Regions from separate parts of the Homo sapiens genome. Here region 1 is linked to region 2. Evidence: promoter capture Hi-C in human tissues and cell types (Jung and others, 2019). All regions are on one chromosome and are shown on one strand. Each heading gives the region's core, a stretch centred on a gene start or on the middle of the fragment in contact. The rest is flanking DNA. Distances are from core to core; before and after follow the strand shown.

Evidence for each region. Contacts are between HindIII fragments. The study calls those that stand out against the background at their distance.
Region 1: the fragment with the promoter of DNAI2 here is called in contact with a fragment that was not itself captured in region 2 in 2 of the 25 tissues and cell types used here (liver and pancreas).

Annotation. Positions count from the first base shown.
Region 1 is chr17:74,269,846-74,277,105 of GRCh38, forward strand. DNAI2 (dynein axonemal intermediate chain 2) reads left to right here and starts at 4,389. Exons shown (of 14, transcript NM_023036.6): 1 at 4,389-4,500. The HindIII fragment of the contact is 25,570 bases long and covers 1-7,260 here.
Region 2 is chr17:74,305,870-74,311,788 of GRCh38, forward strand. It overlaps DNAI2 (dynein axonemal intermediate chain 2), which reads left to right. Exons shown (of 14, transcript NM_023036.6): 10 at 3,384-3,519; 11 at 4,148-4,294. It overlaps LOC105371891 (a long non-coding RNA gene), which reads right to left. Exons shown (of 4, transcript XR_934971.3): 3 at 5,829-5,919; 4 at 4,388-4,538. Among named protein-coding and RNA genes, the nearest start is that of KIF19, 17 kb to the right of the region's middle. The HindIII fragment of the contact is 9,299 bases long and covers 8-5,919 here.

The sequences.
Region 1 (7,260 bases), core at 3,139-5,638, 36 kb before region 2:
GCAAGGGACCTTGAGGAGGGCTCAGCAGGACTGACCCCAGGACTACAGTTCCAGAAAAAATACAAGGGAGTTTGGGCATGGTGGCTCACGCCTGTAATCCCAGCACGTTGGGAGGCCGAGGCAGGTGGATCACCTGAGGTCAGGAGTTCGAGACCAGCCTGGCCAACATGGCGAAACCCCGTCTCTACTAAAAAATACAAAAATTAGCCGGGCATGGTGGCGCGTGCCTGTAATCCCAGCTACTTGGGAGGCTGAGGCAGGAGAATCACTTGAACCAGGGAGGCGGAGGTTGCAGTGAGCCGAGTTCATGCCACTGCACTCCAGCCTGGGCGAAAGAGCAAAACTCCGTCTCAAAACAACAACAACAAAAAGAATGCAAGGTAGCCTTGCCCTGGGGTGGCAGAATGGCAGAGAGAGATCTGGTCTGCATTAGCAAAAGTGCAACTAGTGTTACTTAACCGCTAGCAACATGAGGGCTTGGTGGGCTTGCCATTGATGTGATGAATTCCATCCTGGGAAGCTTTTACAAACCAGGCCCTCCCACAAGCACTGTGACTATGAAGATGAATAGAATGAGGTTTCCACTTTCTAGGCACTCACAGTCCTGGAAGGAAGCTGGCGAGGCAGGCAGACGCTTTGGTAAGGGGGTGCCGCAGCAGCGAGCCGGCAGAACGTGCTGCCTGCATCTCACTCCTGCAAACCACGTGCAGCTTGTTTTCAACATTGGCGGGAAGAGCAGATGGTTCCTACCAAATGTTATTGTATTGCACATTATGAGCCAAGCAAAGTTAAGTCTAAAAAAGTGACTAACGAATCTCTCATGCAGGATTCCAAATAATTTATCTAGATACTCTGCCTTCGAGAAGGTAGCACAAGGCTGGGTGTGGTGGCTCATATCTGTAATACCAGCACTTTGGGAGGCCAAGGTGGGTGAGTCGCTTGAGCTCAGGAGTTTGAGACCAGCCTGAGCAACATGGTAAGACCCTGTCTGTACAAAAAGTACAAAAAAAATAGCCAGGTGTGATGGTGCACACTTGTGGTCCCAGCTACTCGGGGGGCTGAGGTAGAAGGATTACTTGAGCTGGGGTGGGGCGGAAGTTGCAGTGAGGTGAGATTGCACCACTGCACTCTAGCCTGGGTGACAGAGGGAGACCCTGTCTCAAAAAAAAAAGAACGGTAAAACATAGGCTGGGTGCAGTGGCTCACACCTGTAATCCCAGCACTTTGGGAGGCCAAGGCAGGAGGATCGCTTGAGCCTAGGAGTTGGAGACCAGCTTGGGCAACATAGGGATGACACAGGGCAGGTAAGGCCCAAATTGAGGCTTAGCCCGGGAGGGTTCTTGGCTTTGCCCAGGAAAGAATTCAAGGGTGAGCCAGTGGCAGAGGAAAACTGCTTGATTGAGGTGGCAGTGCTACAGCTCATGACTGCTCCTGCAGAGCAGGGCTACCTGTAGGCAGTGTGCAGAGACTAGCAGCTCAGAAGCAGTTTTGCAGTCATATTTATGCCCATTTTTAATTACATGCAAATTAAGAGGTGGATCATGCAGACATTTCTAGAAAAAGGGTGGTAACATTCAGGTCATTGGGTCATTGCCATGGAAGGGGTGGATAACTTCCAGGTGTTGCCATGGCAATGGTAAATTGACATGGCACACTGGTGGGCGTGTCTTATGGAGAGCTGCTTCCGCCTCTTCCCTATTTTAGCTAGCCCTCAGTCTGGTCTGGTGTCTGAGCCCTGCCTCCAGAATCAAGTCCTGCCTCTTACCTGTGGCTACAAAAAATGAAAAAAATTAGCCGAGCATGGGTATGTGCACCTGTGTTCCCAGCTACTTGGGAGGCTGAGGAGGGGGGCTCGCTTGAGCCCTGGAGGTTGAGGCTGCAGTGAGCCATGATTACACCACTGTACCCCAGCCTGGGCGACAGAGCGAGACCAAAAAACAATGTGAATGAACTTAATACCACTGAACTATACACTGAAAAATGGTTAAGATGGTAAATTTTATGTGTAGTTCACCACGCACACAAAAATTGGGACTAAAGGGGGACACAGCAGTGGAACGGGTTGTGGCAATGCCTGGGGATGTCCAGGGCCAGGGGCGGCTCTCAGCAAAGAATTTCTGCTGCCAATTATGCTGTGATTGGGTGAAGATCTGAGAGGCACCGCAATTGTTTTCAAACTAGGTCCTTGTGAATACTTCTAATTATATGACCTCACGCCGAGGCAGCCGGCCAAGGGGTAACTGTTTGGCCAGTGAACAGAGCTGCCCTCTGTGGTCGGTGGCCTGCAGCCTTCTGGGTGAGGGTGGGGGTGGGGAGCCTGTACTAAATTGTTGGATAATATGGTAAAGGTGGCTGCAGTTTCCTTTCAACTTTTCCTATTTCCCCTTCTAACCCACTTTCCCACCCACAAAATAATGTGTCTTCAGAGAGCCCTCGGCTTCCCAGGGCTGGAGGTGGAGTGGAAAGGGTTGCATTATGATTGCAACCCCAGCCAGCCACTACCTCATCATGGAGTGGATCGTTTCCTATTCTTGGAGACTTTGGGTCTGATTCACCTCTGACCACACAAAGCCATTTCAATGCGTCTTTCAGGAGCTCCTCCACCCAGCCCCTGTCAGGACCCTCAGCACCCACCCCTAAGAGTTCTTTGTCCCGAGAAACTGGTGCGAGCCAGAACGGATCAGGAGAGATTGGTGGCAGCAGTCATTTAGGTGCTTGTCTTTGGTTAGTGCGGCCCTGCAAGGTGCCGTCTCATTGGGAATTTCCTTGCACCTGCCCCACTAAAGGCAGGTGGGTAGTGGTGACAACACATATATGGAGAAGTTGGGAAGTGGGAGAGAAACGTTTGCTTCCTTCCTGTCCTTTCACAGATCCCAAACCCGCTGAGGGCTTCCCATGGAAAGCTGTCTGGGCCCCTCAGCCTGCCTCTCTTGGGACCCCCCACAGACTGGCCCTGGCTGACCTTTGCAAATTCCTCTCTCATTTTTCCCCTGCAGGGACTCTCAACCCCAGCCAGACTGATCCACCCACCATCCTCGCAAAATGCCTTTCTTCCATGACGACTGCCCCTTCCTTCCTTGCTCACGCCATGCCCTCCCCCAATCTGGAACGCCCTCCCCACTCCTCTTCCCTGCAACTCATAACCATTTTTCAAGGCCCAGTTCCAACCCCAATCCCACTTCTTGGATGACGCACTCCTCTTCTGTCCCAGTCCAAATTTCCGATGTCAGCATCTGAACTCGGGATAACCTCATTCCCCGAGCTGCCACTCATTCAGGCACCAGTAGCTCTGGACGGGGGCTGGACACGCCCCTGTGTTGTCTCTCACTTAATCCTCCCCATTATCTAATAAGCACCGCCACTGTCCTGCCACTTTGCAGATGAGGATAGCTGAGTCTTAGAAAAGGAAAGGAACTTGCCCAGGGCCATGAGATTAGTAGGTAGCCAATCTGGGATTCAAATTCATTTTTTTCTAGCCCCAAATTCCCTTGTTTTAATTTACATGATCGCAATTGCCTTAACTCCCTGAGAAACATGACTCGTTTCATTCATTCAACCATTCATTCAATGAACACAGTACATTTCGTGCCAATCACCCAGCTAAGCTGTAAAAATCCCCAGCTTTGCCGGGCGCGGTGGCTCACGCCTGTAATCCCAGCACTTTGGGAGGCCGAGGCAGGCGGATCACAAGGTCAGGAGATCGAGACCATCCTGGCTAACACGGAGAAACCCCGTCTCTACTAAAAATACAAAAAATTAGCCGGGCGTAGTGGCGGGCACCTGTAGTCCCAGCTACTCGGGAGGCTGAGGCAGGAGAATGGTGTGAACTCGGGAGGCGGAGCTTGCAGTGAGCCGAGATCGCGCCACTGCACTCTAGCCTGGGCGACAGAGCGAGACTCCGTCTCAAAAAAAAAAAAATTCCCCAGCTTCTACTCCCAAGGAGTTTCCATTCTGGTGGTGCGGGAAGATGTCTTTATTACAGAAAGTGGAGGAAGGATGGTAGCAGAGGGGAGGGCAGAGTTATAATTCCCACTGAATGGATGCGGAAACTGAAGGAAGGCAGGACAACACAGTCGGCCAAGATGGTAAGCAGAGCCCGCCATCACCACCCAGGGATCAGGGCTTCCCAAGCACTGACTATTCTTCCTTGCATTTTCTGGGTGCCTTGCTCGATGCAAATGCATACAAACGTAGGCTTGGATAAGCGCCTTGGCAACGCCCCTACAAATATTCATGATCATTATTAGTATGTTACCAACCTATTGGTTAATTCTTCTCCTAACTCAGGAGACCTCCAAAAAGAAGAGGGATGGCCTGCGCTTCCGACGTGGCAGGAAAGGAGTCACGTGCTCCGGGGTCCTTCCGCGTCGCCCCGCGCGTCCGGAGCCAGGCCGGGGTTGCCAAGCAACCGGTAAACGCCGCCGTTTGAGGAGCACCGGAGCCGCGACCGTGGATTGAACGCTTCCCCAGAGACCCAGAAGCAGAAGGAGCGGACCCAGGGTAAGGGGCGGGCGCCAGGAGGACGTCGGAGGCTAAAGACTAGAGTGGAGAGTGACAGGGAGAGACTTACAGGGTAATAACCACCAAGAGTGCCAAACATTCCTCTTGGGGGGCTTCCTTCTGGGATAGCTCTGCCAGATGGTGGCTGCCAGGACTAGCGCTCCTAGTGCCCTCTTCCCCTTAGTCCTCGCTGCCCTGGATCCGCCCCAAGTCGCAGGACCCTGCAGCCTCTGTACACCCTGCCTCATACCCTCCTACCCACTCAGGTCCTGATACAGTCCTTGTCCTGGAGTGGACTGGAGACCTCTGAAGGATTTACAGCTGAATGGATGGAAAAAAAAGAAGAAAAACAGCCTCCGGCTAGGGTGATGGGAAGATGGGCCCTTTAAGAGGAGAGCTTTCTGCTCAGGATAGAGGGATGTAAATTAACAGTATTGCACACCTGCTAGGTGGCAGGTGTTTTAAGTGCTTTCTTTCATTTCTTCCTCAACCTGGGAGCTGGCGTTCTCGTGTGATCGAGGTCATACAGTTGGTGAGTTCCTCCGGAGCGTGTGCAGTTCCTCCTTCCTGCTCAAGGTCAAGGTTTACCACATTCTCTTGAACCACAGAAGTGCGTCTTCTCCCAGCTTTCAGACCCTATGTGTTTTCCTCTCGAATCCTTGGTTTCAAATCCTTTGCTTGTTTGTCACGGTCAGCAGAGGAGGAACAGGGGAGAGAGCTGTAGAGAGAAGCCTGGTAGGCGCTGGTATCACAGTCACTAACGCAGCAGGTGACAGGAGTCTTGGGCCCCTTCTATGTGCCAGTCCCTGGGGACGGGAGTGAATAAAAGACCACAGTCTTTCCGTCAAGGAGACCACAAGGTAGTTGTGAGGGCAGGTAGTCACTGACCCCCATCGGTCTCCAATTCTGGGGACCTCTTCCCAACTCGTCCTGCCCTCAACCTTCACTTTCCTTGGGGGGCTCAGCCATGCTTAGTGCTATCCTGGGGGAAAATAAATGGGGGCTTTCTAGGGAGGTCTGCCTCTTTTGAGGGTAGAGTGAGTCCCTCAGGACCCCGGAATTCCAGAAGGTGCACAAGGACATAAGAAAGAGAAAGAAAGCTGGGTGCGGTTTTCACACCTGTAATCCCAGTGCTTTGAGAGGCCCAGGAGGATGGATCACTTGAGGTCAGGAGTTTGAGACCAGCCTGCCCAACATGGTGAAACCCCATCTTTACTAAAAATACAAAAATTCTGGCCGGGTGCAGTGGCTCACGCCTGTAGTCCCAGCTACTCGGCAGGTGGAGGCAGAAGAATTGCTTAAACCTGGGAGGTGGAGGTTGCAGTGAGCTGAGATCAGGCCACTGCACTCCAGCCTAGGTGACAGACTGAGACTCCGTCTCAAAAAAAAAAAAAATTAGCCGAGTGTGGTGGCATGCACCAGTAGTCTCAGCTACTCAGGAGACTGAGGCACAAGAATCGCTTGAACTTGGGAGGCAGAGGTTGGAGTGAGCCAATATCACACCACTGCACTCCAGCCTGGGTGACAGAGCAACACTGTCCCAAAAGCAACAACAACAAAGAAAGAGGGAAGGAAGTCCTCTCCTGCCAGGTGCCATGCAGGGCCCACCACTCGCAGGAACCCAGTAGGGGCTGTACCAGGGACCAAGAAGAAGAGGAAAATGTTCTCATCTCCTTATTCCACTAGGGAGTTCAATGTGGAGGGCTGACCTTCCAGCTTGCCTCCTTCCCAGTCTCCCACGCTGACACTCCTCCTCCCCATCACTCCCTTGGCCTTCCTCCCAGCTTGGAAAACACACTTTCCCTTAAGCCACCGGAGGTTCTCTCCAGGAATTACTTTGCTCATTCTCACTGCACAAGACGAGTTTTGTTTTTATAGTGAGTGAAGGTTCCCATCTGACTGCCTCCCCGGGGATGCGGGAGACGCCTGAATCTTTGATGTCTGGACCACAGCGTCCCTGATTCTGCGTGTTCCTGTGTTTGAGACTCACAGTGGTGTTCTTCACGCCTCTGGGACTCTAGGTTCCCACGGGGGGAGGATCTCCCCCCAAAACTCCAGAGGGCAGTGACACTGCTCCCGTCCCCGCTCTGTCACCCCATGCAGACACTCCTGCTCAGGCCTTGCTTGGGGAAGCCCACCCTCTAGCACTAGTCTCACAAGAGGTTGGGGGAGACCTCCTGAGACGCCCTTTGCTGACCTTGCTATTCATCTGTGTGCCCTGCTAGCTTGTGAGAAGAGCTTGCTCTGGGTCCTTGAATGGGTTGTCTTCCCGTCACCAGGCCAGTCTTTAAATGTCCCCTCTGTCTGCCTCCAGACACAAGACAATGCCTCTGTTCTCACTCGGGGCTTGGCCTTGGGAAACACCAAGAAGGAAAGCAAAGCTGTTAAAAATCTGATCTGGGCTAAAGAGGCTATTTCTGTCTTCCTGGAGTTTCCTCATTCTCTTCAATCTCCTTGTGTCCCCTAGGAGCCAGCTGGCTTGCAGCAATTTCTTTTAAAAGTCAGAGACAGGCAGCCCTAATTGCCTGAGTCCTGCAGCCCCATGTGGGAGGCACAGTTGCTTCACACTGTGTTGGCAAAGGGGAGGATGCCACGGGATTTGCATGCTTTTTCACAAGGCCGTAGCTTTGTCCATGTGGTAAAAACACACTGGGGCACCCCGCTACAATCTGGGCTTCTCATCCCACCCTGTGCCCTCTAAGCCATTGCTCCCACCCAGGAAAGAGAATTTCCAAACTACAAGAAAGAGAAGAAAACAAG
Region 2 (5,919 bases), core at 3,407-5,906:
CCACGTTGGCCAGGCTGGTCTTGAACTCCTGACCTCAGGTGATCTGCCCACCTCGGCCTCCCAAAGCGTTGGGATTACAGGTGTGAGCCACCGCGTCTGGCTGGCTTAATTTTCATAATCCTCAAACTATCCCCAGGAGGAGGCAGCATTGCTCTTCTCTTCATCTCATTTTTCATGTTAGGGAACTGGGCTACAGAAAGGCCAAGCCACTTGCTCCTGCTCTCCCAGCTAGTGAGGAGCCGAGATTGGGTGTGAACCAAGGAAGCTTGGCTGGGAAATGCGGGTGCCTTGGCACAATTCAGCAGTGAGGCATAGCCTGTCTTGCTCAGTGCCACTCCTCTGAGGAGAGCAACAGACAGGGAGCTTGAGACAGAGCTATGAGCACAATGGTTAGACCAGAGAAGCTTAGACTATCACATCCCCCTCCATTCTTCTTAGGGCCCATTTACCTTGTCTAAAAGTGCCCTTTCTCCTCCTCCCCTTCATCTCCTAAATTAGGTAATAAGCCCGAATTCTAACCACCCCCTTGAGTCATTCACCACCGAGCACTGCCATGTGTATTGTGCATTGCATGTATAAATAATTACTTTTTTCTCTTGCTAAAAAAAACATCCTGGGGTTCCTTTCCTGCCCACAGAACCACAGACTCCTGCAACGTCAAAGCCACCAGCAACCCTAATGAGCATCTTTGGTTCCAGTGCTTCCCAAATCTGGTTGCATCAGAATATCTTGGGAGGAGTTTTTGTTTGTTTGTTAAAATGCTTTTGAGATGGAGTCTTACTCTGTCACCCAGGCTGAAGTGCAATGGCGAGATCTCGGCTCACTGCAACCTCCACCTCCCGAGTTCATGCGATTCTCCTGCCTTATCCTCCTGAGTAGCTGGGATTACAGGCGCACGCCAGCACACCCAGCTAATTTTTGTATTTTTAGTATAGACAGAGTTTCCCCATGTTGGCCAGGCTGGTCTCAAACTCCTGACCTCAGGTGATTCGCCTGCCTCAGCCTCCCGAAGGGCTGGGATTACAGGCATGAGCCACCGTGCCTGGTGGAGGAGTGATTTTTTTAAAATCCAGATTCTCAGCCCCAACCCTGGGGGTACTAACATAGAATCTTGGGCTTAGCCCAGGAATGGGTTTGCTAAGGAGCAACCCCAGGCTTGTGACTCAGCCAGTCCTTGCTTTGGGAGCAGAAACCTGGTTCGATGTCCTCATTCTACAGGGGTGGGAACGCTGGCTGACAAGGGCAGTGCATTGTTCCAGGCCTCATAGCAAGTAGGGGGTTCCCAGTAGATGTGAAGCCCTTTACAGGCTTTAGGAGCCTTCCCAATGTCTTCAGGTCCTGCAGGCTGCCAGGGCTGTGTGAAAGGAGCAGGGTGTCGAGCACAGCACCCATAGGCCTTTCGCAGGGCTGGTTCCTAGAGGGACTTGGTGGACCTGTGTCGTAGAACCTGGGTCTCCCTTGTCCTCCTCCTGCATAAGGTTAAACAAATTTAGCAAATAAGAATATTTGACCCTGGGCCAGGTGCAGTGGGCTAATGCCTGTAATCCCAGCACTTTGGGAGGCTGAGGCGGGAGGATCACTTGAGGTCAGGAGTTCAAGACGAGCCTGGCCAATATGGTGAATCCCCATCTCTAATAAAAATACAAAAAATCAGCTGGGCTTGGTGGCTAACGCCTGTAATCCCAGCACTTTGGGAGGCCGAGGCGGGTGGATCACCTGAGATCAGGAGTTCAAGACCAGCCGAGATTGCGCCACTGCACTCCAGCCTGGGCGACAGAGTGAGACTCCGTCTCAAAAAAAAATAATATTTGGCACTTAGTTAAATCTGAATTTTAAAAAAAAAAACTATTTTTTTTTTAGTATAAGTATGTCCCATGCAATATTTGGTATATACTTATACTAAAAATTATTCATTGTCCAAAAATCTCCAGATGTTTCTTTTTTTGGGGGGATGAAGTCTCTTTGTTGCCCAGGCTGGAGTGCAGTGGCACGATCTTGGCTCACTACAACCTTCACCTCCTGGGTTCAAGCAATTCTTCTGCCTCAGCCTCCTGAGTAGCTGGGATTACAGGCGCCCACCAACACCCCTGGATAATTTTTTTATTTTTAGTAGAGGCAGGGTTCTGCCATGTTGGCCAGGCTGATCTCAAACTCCTGACCTCAGGTGATCCACCATTCTCGGCCTCCCAAAGTCCTGGGATGACAGGCATGAGCCACCGCGCCCGGCCCAGATCCTTTCTTTAGTCTTGATCATTTCTCCCACTGTGGTCTGGCTGTCAACACACTAGGTTTGCAAAGGTGACTGGGAAGTGTAGTCTGCCTTGCTCACCAGGGGCCCAGCTACAACTATATTGCAATGGAGGAAGGGAGAGGAGGTCTGGGTGAAAATCTGAAGGCTGCACTGTGTGTGTGTCCCTTTTAAAAAAATGTTCCGTCTTCACTGAAGAAACTCTTGAAAACCCAGATGAAACCAAGTAGGAAGTGACACTCTCCTTATCTCAGCGGTAGCAGCTTTTCTGGGCATGTCCTTCCTCTGACTCCCATCCGTGAGTCCCAGGGCTGGGACCAGGTCCAGCAACACGTGCCTGCTGCCTGGAGTTAGCAGCAGAGAAATGCCAGTGGCCAGCCCACGGGAAGGACTGTGCCCAGAGCCCTTTCTTTATTTTATTTGAGACAGGGTCTCACTACGTTGCCCAGGCTGGAGTACAGTGGCACAAACATGGCTCACTGCAGCCTCGACCTCCTGGGCTCAAGCGATCCTCCCATCTCAGCCTCCCGAGGAGCTGGGACCACAGGTGCTCACCACCACACCCGGCTAATTTTTTTATTTTTTGTAGAAACAGGGTCTTTCCATGTTGTCCAGGCTGGTCTCAAAATCCTGGCTTCAAGCGATCTTCCTGCCTTGGCCTCCCAAAGTGCTGGGATTACAGGCACATGACCAGCCCAGAGCCCTTTAAAGAACAGCCTGTCAGACACCTGAGGTCAAGAGTTTGAGAGCAGCCTGGCCAACATGGTGAAACCCCATCTCTAGCAAAAATAAAATATTAGCTGGGTGTGGTGACGGGCGCCAGTAATCCCAGTTACTCGGGAGGCTGAGACAGGAGAATTGCTTGAACCCAGGAGGCAGAGATTGCAGTGAGCCGACATCGTACCACTGCACTCCAGCCTGGGCAACAGAGCAAGAGTGTCTCAAAAAAAAAAAAAAAAAAAGCAACCTGTGAGCTGTGGATGAGTGAGGTCAGCACAGCTAGAAGTCAGACACAAGGAAGAACTTCCTACCTAGCAAGACTCTGAGATCCTGGAGCCCAGAAGGGACCAAGTGAGCCAAGCTGTGGCTCAGAAGCCTCTGTCCCTCCAACCATGATGTGGTCTACCTCCCACAGGTACCACATGGCTTACCTCACTGATGCTGCCTGGAGCCCCGTGAGGCCGACCGTTTTCTTTACCACCAGGATGGACGGAACCCTGGATATCTGGGACTTCATGTTCGAGCAGTGCGATCCCACCCTCAGCTTGAAGGTCACGCGCATGTCCCTCCTTGTGCATCCAGGTCCTCAGGGAGCCAGGTCCCGGCGTGGGTGTGAGTGTGGGGTGCTGTGAGCACGTGTGCAGTGTGTGGCCAGGTGTGTTTGGGCCTCTGTGGGGGAGCCGTGTGCAGGCTGACTGCAGCGATTGCTTTTGAGCGTGTGCTCCTACAAAGGTTAAGGGGCCTGGGGGATTTGGCATCCTGGTAGCACAACAGAACCACCTGGGGGAAATTTAAAAAGAAACAAAAGCAGGTACCCGGCATCTCCTACCCACAGGCCGATTCCTTCAGAGCCCCTGGGGTTTGGCTGCTGGACCTTCCCCTTCATGTCAGGGTGGCCAGAGCTGAGCCCCACTGGCTGGGGCCACGGAAGGGTGGGGGCATTGGGGAACCACAGGGTGACTGTGAGGCGGAACTGAAGGGGTGGGGCGGGAGATGAGGCAGGGAAGCCAGGAGCCTTGACAACCAGTCTCCGAGTTTGAACTTCATCCTGTGGGCAGAGGCGTCCTGAGGATGTTTGAATAGGGCCAAGTGGCTGAGCCTCCCCAGGGGCCAGTTAATCAGACACACATAACTTTGCTCCTCTCTCCTCTACCTGGGTCTGCCCGGCCCCTTCAATAGGTGTGTGACGAGGCCCTCTTCTGCCTCCGGGTGCAGGACAATGGGTGTCTCATCGCCTGCGGCTCCCAGCTGGGGACAACCACCCTGCTGGAGGTCTCGCCTGGGCTCTCTACCCTCCAGAGGAATGAGAAGAACGTAGCCTCTTCCGTAAGCACCGGGTGCCTGGGGAAAATCCCTCCAGCACGTCCCGACCTGGCCCCACAGCAGAGCAGGCTAGTCAGACAAATAGATGGCCCCGCCCTCCCACCCCCAGAACATAGGTGCACATTTTGGGGGAAGCAGTGTGGGCTCCATAAATAGGTGTTGGTGTGTCCATTTGCCTTTGCTCAACTGCTGGGTAGCTAAGTGGCCTTCAGTAAGTCACGTCACTCTCCAGGATTCAGTTTTTTACCTGTAAATCAAAGAGGTTCGACTTGGTCAGTTTGTCTAGTTTCAAATAACACTTTTTTTTTTTTGTGGAAACTTTCCAATGAAGGCTTAGTATTGTATTATATTATATTGTATTTTAATTTAATTATTTTTATTTATTTATTTATTTTTGAGACAAAGTCACGCTCTGTTGCCCAGGCTGGAGTGCAATGGTGAGATCTAGGCTCACTGCAATCTCTGCTTCCCAGGTTCAAGTGATTCTCCTGCCTCAGCCTCCTGAGTACCTGGGATTACAAGTGCATACCACCACGCCCAGCTAATTTTTGTATTTTTAATAGAGACAGGATCTCACCATACTGGCCAGGCTGGTCTTGAACTCTTGACCTTAAGATGATCTGCCCACCCTGGCCTCCGAAAGTGCTGGGATTATAGGCGTGAGCCACCGTGCCCAGCCTAATTATTTTATTTATTTTTATTTTATCAGTTTATTTTATTTTACTTCATTTTGAGACAGGGTCTTGCTTTGTTGCCCAGGCTGGAGTGCAGTGGCACAATCATGGCCCACTGCAGCCTCTACCTCCCAGGCTGAATCGGTCCTCCCACCTCAGCCTCCTGAGTTGCTGGGACCACAGGCATGCACCACCATGCCTGGCTCATTTTTTAATTTTTGTAGAGACAGGGTCTCCTTATGTTGCCCAGGCTGGTCTGAAACTCCAGGGCTCAAGCAATCCTTCCACCTCAGCCTCCCAAACTGCTGGGATTATAGGCATGAGCCACCACGCCCAGCCTGAAGACTTAGTAGAATGCTAATAGGGAAGCCAGATAGAAGGGGACTTGAAGAGGGGGACTGAGATCCATTCCTACATCCTTTCCCCAGTGGACAGCCCTGCAGGCAACCCCCCAGAACCATGGGGAACACTGTGGAACTGAAAACCCCTAGTGCTAGGGCCGGGTGTGGTGGCTCACGCCTGTAATCCCAGCACTTTGGGAGGCCGAGGCGGGCAGATCACCTGAGGTCGGGAGTTCGAGACCAGCCTGACCAACATGAAGAAACCTCGTCTCTACTAAAAATAGAAAATTAGCCAGGCATGGCGTCACATGCCTGTAATCCCAGCTCCTTGAGAGGCTGAGGCAGGAGAATTGCTTGAACGTGGGAAGCAGAGGTTGTGGTGAGCCGAGATCGTGCCATTGCATTCCAGCCTGGGCAACAAGAGTGAAACTCTGTCTCAAAAACAAAACAAAACAAAAAAGGAAAACCCCTAGTGCTGAGGCCTGGAGAGCCTCCTGGCTCTGCCTGAGACTGGGATCTCACCATTGAGCTGGTCCTTGTTGGGCCAAAGCCGCCATATTTCATAGCTCCAAAGGGCGCTCTTCTGCCTGTGGTTCTGGAACTCCATGCTCCT